2 separate regions of the Homo sapiens genome follow, and region 2 is linked to region 1. Evidence: promoter capture Hi-C in 16 types of primary human blood cells and fetal thymus (Javierre and others, 2016). All regions are on one chromosome and are shown on one strand. The core of a region is centred on a gene start or on the middle of the fragment in contact, and the rest is flanking DNA. Distances in the headings are between cores, read along the strand shown.

Region 1 (4,849 bases), core at 979-3,478:
AGCCCAATTTACTCTCCACACTAAAGTGGGAACATTCCTTCCAAAAAAAGAAAAGAAACATAACCAAAAGTAAAACAAACTGAAGAAGTTCAACAGATATGATGGGGTAATAACCTTACTATATACAGAAATTGTACAGAACAATAAGAAAACAAAGAATAAAAACACACAGCTTATTTTAAAATTATAAAATATAGCCAAAAACCACATGAAAAAGTGGTCAACCTTGCTACAAAAAAACAAAAGACTATTAACAAGGAAACATTAGTTTTTCATGTGTCAAAATGAGAAATAATTTAAAAAATGATTACAGAGTTAGGACAAGACAATGAGTACCATCCTAAACTGCTAATGGTAATGAAACCTAGAGGACGCTGGGTCTACAGCATTAGGAATCCATTCAAAGAGTATATACATAAGATTGACCTATAAGGATGCTCAATGAAGTATGATGTAACACCAAAAATGCAAATAGAAACCCTTAAATGTCCAACAACGGAGGAATAGTTAAACAAAATTAAGGCATATCCATATTATGGAATACTAAGTACTCAGAAAAACACAAAAATATTAAAATACTTTATAGTGAAATTTAAATAAAACAGGAGAATATGAAATATCAAGATATTTTTCGATCTTGATTTGATAACTGAAGAGTAAGGAAGAAACAAGTTACAAAACAAGGCAAAGCAGACAACCCAATTTAAAAATGGGCAAAAGATGTAAACACCTCTCGCAAATGAAATTAACGCAGATAGCAAATAAGTATATGAAAAGATGAACACTGTATATCATGAGATATTCCAAAGTTGAAACAAGATACCACTACGCAGCTATCAGAATGGATAGCAATCCAAAGTAACCGACAGCCCCGCATGCTGGCGAGCACGCAGAGCAACAAGGAGAGCCTTCACTTCTGGTGGGAGTCAAATGGCACAGTCACTCTGGAAGATGGCTTGGCAGCTTCTTAGAAAACTAGTCTTACTACATGAGTAATCGCTCTTCCAGGTATTACCCAAATGATATAAAAATGTATTTCCAAAAAGAAATCTGCATGTACACGATTACAGCAGCTTTATTCATAATTGCCAAAAACTTGAAGCAACCAAGATGCCCTTCAATTGCTGAATGAATTGAAGTACATCCATGCAATGAGATATTACTCAGTGATTAAAAAGAAATGAGTTACCAAGCCACGAAGACATAAGTGAATCTTACATAGATATTTCCAAGTATTCAAGGCGTCTGAAAAGGCAATATATTGTATGATTCTAATTATATGACATTCCAGAAAAGGCAACTATGGAAATGTTAATGAGATCTGTGGTTGTCAGGGGTTGGAGAAAAAGAAGGGTTTAATAGGTAAAGCAGAGGGGAATTTTTTAAGGCAGTGAAGCTACTCTGTACGAACCTATAATGGTGGAGACATGCTATTACACACGTGTCAAAACCTATAGAACCTTATAGCACAAAGAAAAAATCCATAGAACCTTATAGCACAAAGAATGCGCTCAATGTATGCACATTTTAAAAAACGCATTAGGTAGAAGGATCCCAAGATGTAAGGCAGAATGTGACAAAGCAATCCAACTGTGTTACAAATGTATGAAACGATTTCACTGAAGAAGGTGGGGGCAAAATGCTAAGAAATGAGAGTAGTCAGTCAGAGTAAAGGCAAAAGGAAGCGGACACAAGCACTGAACTCCGTGTCTGCTCAACATGGCATCACCCAAGCACCCAGCAGGGCCCGACCTTTAAACGGCTCTTGACAGGGCTGCTACGTGAATTATCTAATGACAAGCGCGTGTGCCCCCGGCCTGCCACCTGCACACGGGCCTCCCGCATCAGGGCAGCCTCGGGGCCCTGATCACCTCCGCGCTCCAGCGTTTTGCTTAAAGCTGAGATAAAATGGCCTGGAGAAGCTCGTGGCCCCCTGAGGTCTGTCCACGACCAAAGACCAAACAATTCCGGAGGCAGGAGGGGTCCCCCAAACCCACCCGGAGAGCGACCTGGGAGCCGCCGCCAGAGGCCGGGGGAGATGTGGAACTGCTCCCCACCCCGCCACCCCGCCACCCTGCCACCCCGCCACCCTGCCACCCCGCCGCCCGCTCACCACGCGCTGGGCGCCCGCCGCCACGACCCGGGCGGACGCGGACGTCGCTGCCAGCTTCAGGAGCCGCAAGGCCATGGCTACCCGGTCAGCTCAGGATCAAGGACCCAAGGGGACGCGGTCGCGACGGGGCCCTCTCTCGCGGCCGGCGCGCTGCCGTGACGTCACGGCCGGGGTGCCCGCGGCGCCTGTCGGGAACCTTCCAGGGGGCGGGGCCGCGCCGAGGCCCTCGGGGGCTTCCGCGGAGACAGCCAGTGCGCTGCCAGGGTCCTGCGGGTTGGGGCGAGGGCCGAGAGGTGGGAGTTGGAGGTGAACGTGGGGGCAGCATGCTGGCTGCCCGGCCCCTGCCTGGGTTCTGAGTTGCTGCGGTGTCGCGGGAGCTGAGGCCGCCCAGGGCGTGGAGCGACTTCTGCGTCTCGTCCCAGGGTCCTGTGCTCCCCGCAGAATCCCCCAGGCGCGGTGTGGACGTCAAAGCGACCTCCTAGAGAACATTCCTAGCTCTCAGAACGTTCTCGCTGGGGAGGGAAAGTGGAAAAAGAGGGGGCGAGGAGCGGAGGGACGGGGTGGGACCCCTGTCGCGGGGCGCCTGTCAGGGAGAGGGACCTGGCAAGGCCGGCCTGGGTCGCCTCCGGAGCTGAAGGCTAAGTGGTCTCATCCAGGGGACCTGCTGTGAACACATTGAATAGCATAGAAAACAAAAGCACACGCTCCAAGTCCATCTCTTTTTTTTTTTTTTTTTTTTTTTTTTTTTTTTTTTTTTTTTGAGGCAGAGTCCCGCTCTGTCGCCCAGGCTGGAGTGCGGTGGCGCCATCGCGCTCACTGCAAGCTCCGCCTCCCTGGTTCACGCCATTCTCCTGCCTCAGCCTCCCGAGTAGCTGGGACTACAGGCGCCCGCCGCCACACCCGGCTAATTTTTTGTATTTTTAGTAGAGACGGGGTTTCACCATGTTAGCCAGGATGGTCTCGATCTCCTGACCTCGTGATCCACCCGCCTCGGCCTCCCAAAGTGCTAGGATTACAGGCGTGAGCCACCGCGCCGGCAAGTCCATCTCTTAAAATGTGCTCCCGTCAGGACCTGGGCTCTGGGCTCCACGAAGGAGCCTTGCATGTGAGGTTTCCTTCCAAGTATGCCTGCTGTTGGGAAGGGTTTTTATAATCTTTTGTGTTCCCCAGGCTTTTTGTTCTTAACCCCTTAAATATTCTTTAACTTTGTTTTCAACTTTTCAGAAATGATCATGCGATTGTAAAACAGTGGGAATGCAGCTGTGTAAACTACGGCCGGTTCTATGGATGTTTCTATAATTGAAGAATTGCTTTTTGTCAAAAATACGGATTCCCGGTCCCCAACGCAGGAGGGTCTGGTTTTTAGATCCTGGAGGGCACCTGAAATCCATTTAACAAGCTTTAGGGTTCATGTCTGCTGTTTTTTGCCTTGTTTCCTTTGCATTTTTTTTTTTTTTTTTTTTTTGTGCCTTCCAATGGATACAGTACATTTTTTTAGAATTCCATCTTGATTTACTGATAATGTCTTGGGAAATATCATTATGTATAGTTTTCGTAGTGGTTCCTCTAGGTATCACAGCACGCAGACGTAACTTCTCACAACCTGTTTGCGTGGATGTTTTGTTGTACCTGAGCGAGTTAGAAAAACACCACCTTTGAGACGAATTAAGAGTCCTTTATTAGCTGGCGACCGAGAGACGGCTAACGCTCAAAATTCTCTCAGCCCCGAGGAAGGGGCTTGATTAACTTTTATACCTTGGTTTAGGAAGGGGGGGGGGTCTAGTTAAAACAATTTTACAGAAGTAAAGTAGTCAAAAAGTTAAAAGGGTAAATGGTTACAGGAAAGTAAACAGTTCAAGGTGCAGGGGCTTTAAGACTATTACAAGATGATAGACCCGGGGCTTTGGGCGTTATCAATCGGACAAATTCCTGGGAACTGCGGATGTAGCTTGCCACAGTATCTTACCAGTTAATTGCATTCTTGGATGTGGTGGGAGTCAGCCTGCACAAGTTAAGTCCTTGAGAAAGGGGCTGCCAGTGAAAGAGCCAAGATGGAGTCTGTCTGGCTCTCTTAGCTAAGGGAGAGTCAATTCAGGTGGAAACAGGGCTAGGTGATTAAAGGAAAAGGGAGAGTCTGAAAACAGTTAGTAAAAACCAGGTTGGGCATTACAGTTTTACTGGTTCAAGGGAAGTATTACTATATACTTCCCCGTCCCTCCGCTTCTCGCCCCCCTTTTTCCGTTTTCCCTCCCCAGCTAGAACGTTCTGAGAGCTAGGAATGTTCTCTAGGAGGTCGCTTTGACGTCCACACTATATTAGACAGCATGAAAATAACTTCAGACCCCAATAGACCAATATCTCTCGTGAACTTAGACACAAAAATCCTTAACGAAATGTTAGCAAATTGAATCCAACACTATATGAAATGAATCATACACCACAACCCAAGGTGGTTTATTCAGAAGATGCAAGGCTAATCTGGTATTTGAAAATCAACCAATGTAATACACCTTACCAGCAGGTGAAAGACGAAATCTATGACCAGATTGCCTGATGCAGTTTTCTGCATCACTTGACAAAATTAAATACTCATTTATGATAAAAACAAAAACTGCTCTCAGCAAATAAGGACTAAAGGGGAGCTGCTTCAGCTTGATAAAGCACATGCGTGAAAACTCTGCATCATTGTACTTAATCATGAAAGACTGAATGCTTGCCTTCTAAGGAGGAAACAAG
Region 2 (4,849 bases), core at 1,028-3,527, 110 kb after region 1:
GAAACCAGCCGGCTGCCGCTGTGAGCATGAGAAAGCCGGGCTAGGCTGCAGAAAGGTGAAGCCTCCAGTAAGGGAGCGTGAATGATACTCAAGCCTGAGAAACACCTGCTAAGGCCCATTCTCACTGGAAGAAACGCAGCAAACACGTAGTGCCCTGCTTTGGGTGATCAAAATCAGGCCCCCCAGGAAAGATTTTGTCCTTCTGTTTAGTCTTCTGTGTTTTTCAAATTCCCTACTACAGGCAATCATCACTTTCACAATGGGAGGTGAAAATACAACTAAAAGCCCACCCACATGTACTGCGCACTGAAAATGTGCAGTATGAATTATGAACTAGAAAGAGGAGGTTCAACTCCTGGAGGGTCAGAGCGAAGAGAAAGGGGCCTGCTGGCACCACAGCATCCAGCCTTCCTGGGGAGGGTGGCGTCCCTGAGGCATCTCTGGATACTGCAGAGGGTCCCGACGCTCCCCAGCCACACTGATGCACCCCCACGTCCTCACTGCCTCCCGACTGCTGGTTGTGGTTCGCCGCTAGGAGCACTTTTGCGCAGTCCTGGGCCTGGCTGACTCCACACCTTCCGACCTCTGCTCTGCTGCCCCCTCTGGAGAAACCTCCCTCTGCAGTGCTCCCAGAAACAATGCCGTCCACGCTTTGCCAGGGCTCTTGTCACAGTCCAGCCCCTGCCTGCTGACTTGTCTGGACCCACAATTTTGTAAGACATGGCGAGGGAAGAGAGAGTGTCTCTTTCGTGGCTAGAACCCTGGTGCCCAGGGTGTAACAGCCCAGCAAACCCATCTGTTTGACGAGTAAAAAGGACTTAGCAAAAGCCTCATCCACAGCCCACAGAGGTCTCTCAAAGTAAATGGCTTCTTGAACACATGGGGTTGTCACAACCTGATGGGACAGTGAGTGCTTTGTGAACTTAGTGGGTGGGCAGGCAGGGGACACAGAGCTCTCCTGCGTCCCCTCCCTGACCGGCCGTGGCTCAAAGGCAGACACGCGCCCACAATGCTCAGGTTGCTGGGCGCTCACCTGACGGGTAGGACCTGGGTCCCTCTCAGAGATGCTTTCCCGTCAGGATTCAAGGGCTGACTCTGGAAGTCATGTGAACTCAAACACTAGAACACAGCAATCGCCTCTAACCAATGGGCTGGCAGAGGATAAATGGGACTTTGAAGGAGATCATCAAAATGCAAGCGTGTGGTGCCAGCATTAGCAACTGCCCAATCCTGCCCACGTGAAAAGCTTCAAAGTCGCCCTGGTGAGCTGGTGTTTTTGCAAAGCAGCTTTGGAGAGCGCTCTGCAGCTTTGTACAATTTGTTCCCTCTGAAGGCAACACCCTTCTCCCACCTCGCTCTGGCATAAAGAATTGAAATAAATGCTATTCAGTTCTCCAGGCTCATCTCAAATGTCATCTGCCTCAGTTCTGACTCCAGTTGGTAGCAGTAAGAATGCTGCCTCAGGGGCATGGCCAGGCACCCTGGGAAAGCCTGCACCCCAACTCAGCAGCTTGGCTGCTCCCCTCAGGCAATGGCTGCCTGACAGTAAGCCTGATGAAGCAGCAGGGACTCAGGATGGCAGGGGGTCTCTGGTAAATTAGAAACCGATGTGGCAAGCTCAGGTCCTAGCTGTTAACTAGTAACAAGAGCTTTCTGTAGAGAAAAGCACCATGGATTAAACCAGGATGAAAAATGCCACCTCACTCTCTGGAGTAAGAAACCTATCTTATTTACTTATTATTTGAACCCTTAGTAAAGGTTAATATCATCTATAGGAATAAGGCCTGAAGAAATCAGAAGAGAATGAGAAATATTCCCTCTAGCAGGTCTGAAGATGTTACAGAAAATTTGCTTTTCACTGTTCATTTGGTTTACCCATGTTTTTGGTAACTAGCACTGAAGCCCTTAAATCAAGAGGAAAACACATCCTGCGTCCTGATTTCAGAGCTGGGCAAGAGCTGGAGTATGGCTGTCCCTCTGCAAAGGCAGCTGAGGGCATGAGAACCCAGGCAGGCAAACACAGGTGGGCTGGGAGAGGAAAGGAAACCGGCTACCCGGAGAGGGCGGAGACAGGGAGACAGATGGGGTTCCTATGGCCGTGTGTGGGGTGAGGGCCCAGACCTGGCTACAGTCTGAGGTGTCCGCAGGCACATGTAACACGCATGCCAGAGCTCAAACTCAACTACTGGGCTGCAAGCTGGGAACAATTTCATGCTACTTTTCTCCTGAAAAATAAGGCTGCCTGCCAGTGGCCGCAGCCCGTGTCATCGCTCCACAGAGGCTGCACTGCATTCTGAGAGGAGCGCAGGGGCTCTACCACCTTATGATCCAAATTATTCATGTCACCAAGTTGCTTCACTGCCTTCACCTAGAGAAGAAATATTCAGATTAAATCTGGCATCCCATTCCAAGCATCCTTACCGTTAAAAAAGTCTGCATGAACGGCCTTTTCATTGGCTGCCAAGTCCATCAAGAGCCCGGTGCTGCCTCCCGCCTGGGGAATGGAAAGGCAAGGTTATGTCAGGTGCGTTTTCCGAAAGAACAGGTGATAAGTGCATTGCAGGGCCACTACCCCCACAAAAAAAGAAGATGGGTGAGGGGAAACAGGCTCAAGTTGGAGTCAACATTTTAGTTCCAGACACAGGAATGTGTATTGGGGGGAGGGGGAGGAATTCAAAGGAATGATTTTTAAGGTCTCTCAAGGGCTTCTGTTCCTTGATTCCTGTCTGCCTTTAAAAAAGAAACCTACCACTGACCTAAGCACCACTACTTCTCTGTGCCCCTCAAGGAGAGCTTTCCGATCCCTCGCCGGACATCGCCAGAGGCCACAAACATGCGAAATTGAGCCCATCGCCTCCACTCAGGATCCCTTCCCTCTCTCTTCTGGGAATGAAACCACTTCCCCGAGGAAACTGACCTGCTCTGCCTCTGAGGTTCTGGTGCCCCGCTGCTATCATGGACCGTCCACTGCCACAACTCCACGGCAGTGGAAAAACCATGTCACAACCCAAGCTGGGCAATCTGAAGCCCTCAGGATTTTGGGTCCTGTTTAGAGTCAACCGGTGACAGAGGGAGCAGATTCCTCTGACAGCAGCACCCTGGACAGCTGGCCACAGGTCCTGCTGCTGCCCTGGCCCCAGCATTCACAAGGCCGCTTGCTCAGACCTGCCCTGATCCCCACATAGCTGCATGCCCTTGTTCCCTTTCAGACACTCTCAGAAAAGCCAGGACACTCAGTCTCCTCCCCTGGCTTCTCAGCCACCCTCCCTGTCCCCATCAGCACAGTAAGCCACGCGCATTCTACCACTTGAAGCTTGTCCCTACCTCCATCTGCCTCATTCACACCCTCTTCAACTCTCCTGTTCTCCCTGCTCTCATTTTTCTACCCTCTCACCCGTAAATGCTGCCACCCTACAGAGCAAGTCGGAGCCTCTCACTCCCCACTGTAAAGCCCTCCGGTGGCTCCACATCGCCTAGGACTGTGAAGCCTAGGACTGTAAAACAGGACTGAGAAGCCTGGGTTTAATGGAAGTGCTTCGGGAGCGGGGTGCACAGAGCCACCCTCTTTAGCATGGTTCCAGATGGTTTCACGATCTGGGTAGGGAGAGAGTCCCTACCCACTGTCTCCCCTCTCTCTGGCACTGCACGCTCAACCATGTTAAACGACACAACATTCCCTTCCCTTGGTGAGCCAGTCGGCATCCCCCAACCCAGGGCTCTGCTCCTGCCGGGCCTTCATCCCCCACTACCTGGCAAACACCAATGTGTCCCCCAGCATTTGGCCACAGAGTCGACTCCTCAGCTGTACCTTTGCTGAGCCCCCTCAAAGCCCTGAGGGTCCATCCGTCGGTGCGCCTTCGGCTTTCTATGACACCTGGTATTTGCAATCAGCCGCTCTGCCATGCTATTACCTCCACAAGCACAAGGGCTGCCTCTGACCACCTCTGCAGCCCCTAAGCTTTGAGAAAGAGCACATAAGGCCCTGACATGTAGGAGCTGGCCTGCCACTCTGAGCTAGGCTGTGGTGCTCTCCTGCTGACCATAAACCATCTCAGAACGCTCACATCAGACAAGGTCACTCTGTGAACACAATAGAGACCAACAAAACCCCAAGACGACTGTATAATCCTGTATAATTAAAAAGAAGAACGAGGCCACTACGCAAAGCACATAAATGCCAGATGTCTCCTTTTCCGCTCCGACAGGAATGACGGCTGCTCCAGTCTTCCCTCATTCTAGTTAAGATTAAGAGGCCCAATCGGAGAATTATCCTCGCTTCCAAGGCACAGTAAAGCCCACTTTCTTCCCCCAAATCCCCTAACACGAGCTCAAATCCCACACGAGGTTATGGAGACGCACCGCGGGCCCCCATGGGGTGCTGCAGCCATCGAAGAGCAGCAAACGCAACTCCTCTGACCACGGGTGTGTTCCCGGGGGCCGTGGGGGCACCCAGCAGGCACTCAACCCTCAGGCTGCGCCTCCTGGTCCCCCGGGCTAGGGCACACGCTTCCCGCCGCGGTCGGTCGCCGCCTTTCACCAGGTGCTCGGAGAAACCGGGATTTGCTCTCCGCGGGGCAGGGAGCCTGGGAGCCGCGCCCATCGCCCACCCGCCCGGCCTCCCCTCCCCGGGACCCGCGCACCAGGACGCCGCCCTTCCGCTCCCCCTTCCCCGCTCCCCACGCTCGGAGACTCCCGCCGGGCCCGTGCCACCTCGTCCAGGTCCACGTAGGGCCCGGCGCCCTCGGGGAACATCTCGTCCACCGCCGGCTTCATCTCGGGGCCGCGGCGCTCTAGGCTCACTTCCGGCCTCAGAGCCGCTTCCGGCGCGCGCCACATGGCAGATCTAGAC

Evidence for each region. Contacts are between HindIII fragments. The CHiCAGO score rates a contact against its expected background, and 5 or more counts as called.
Region 2: a fragment that was not itself captured here is called in contact with the fragment with the promoter of NDUFA10 in region 1 in 1 of 17 cell types (total B cells); the score reaches 5.1 in total B cells.

The regions. Positions count from the first base shown.
Region 1 is chr2:240,023,114-240,027,962 of GRCh38, forward strand. It overlaps NDUFA10 (NADH:ubiquinone oxidoreductase subunit A10), which reads right to left and starts at 2,229. Exons shown (of 10, transcript NM_004544.4): 1 at 2,114-2,229. The coding sequence starts at 2,188. RefSeq lists a silencer at 2,156-2,415 and an enhancer at 2,224-3,053. The HindIII fragment of the contact is 3,872 bases long and covers 1-3,510 here.
Region 2 is chr2:240,131,512-240,136,360 of GRCh38, forward strand. COPS9 (COP9 signalosome subunit 9) reads right to left here and starts at 4,794. Exons shown (of 3, transcript NM_001163424.2): 1 at 4,711-4,794; 2 at 2,422-2,494. The coding sequence starts at 4,773. RefSeq lists a silencer at 4,606-4,655. The HindIII fragment of the contact is 2,067 bases long and covers 1,245-3,311 here.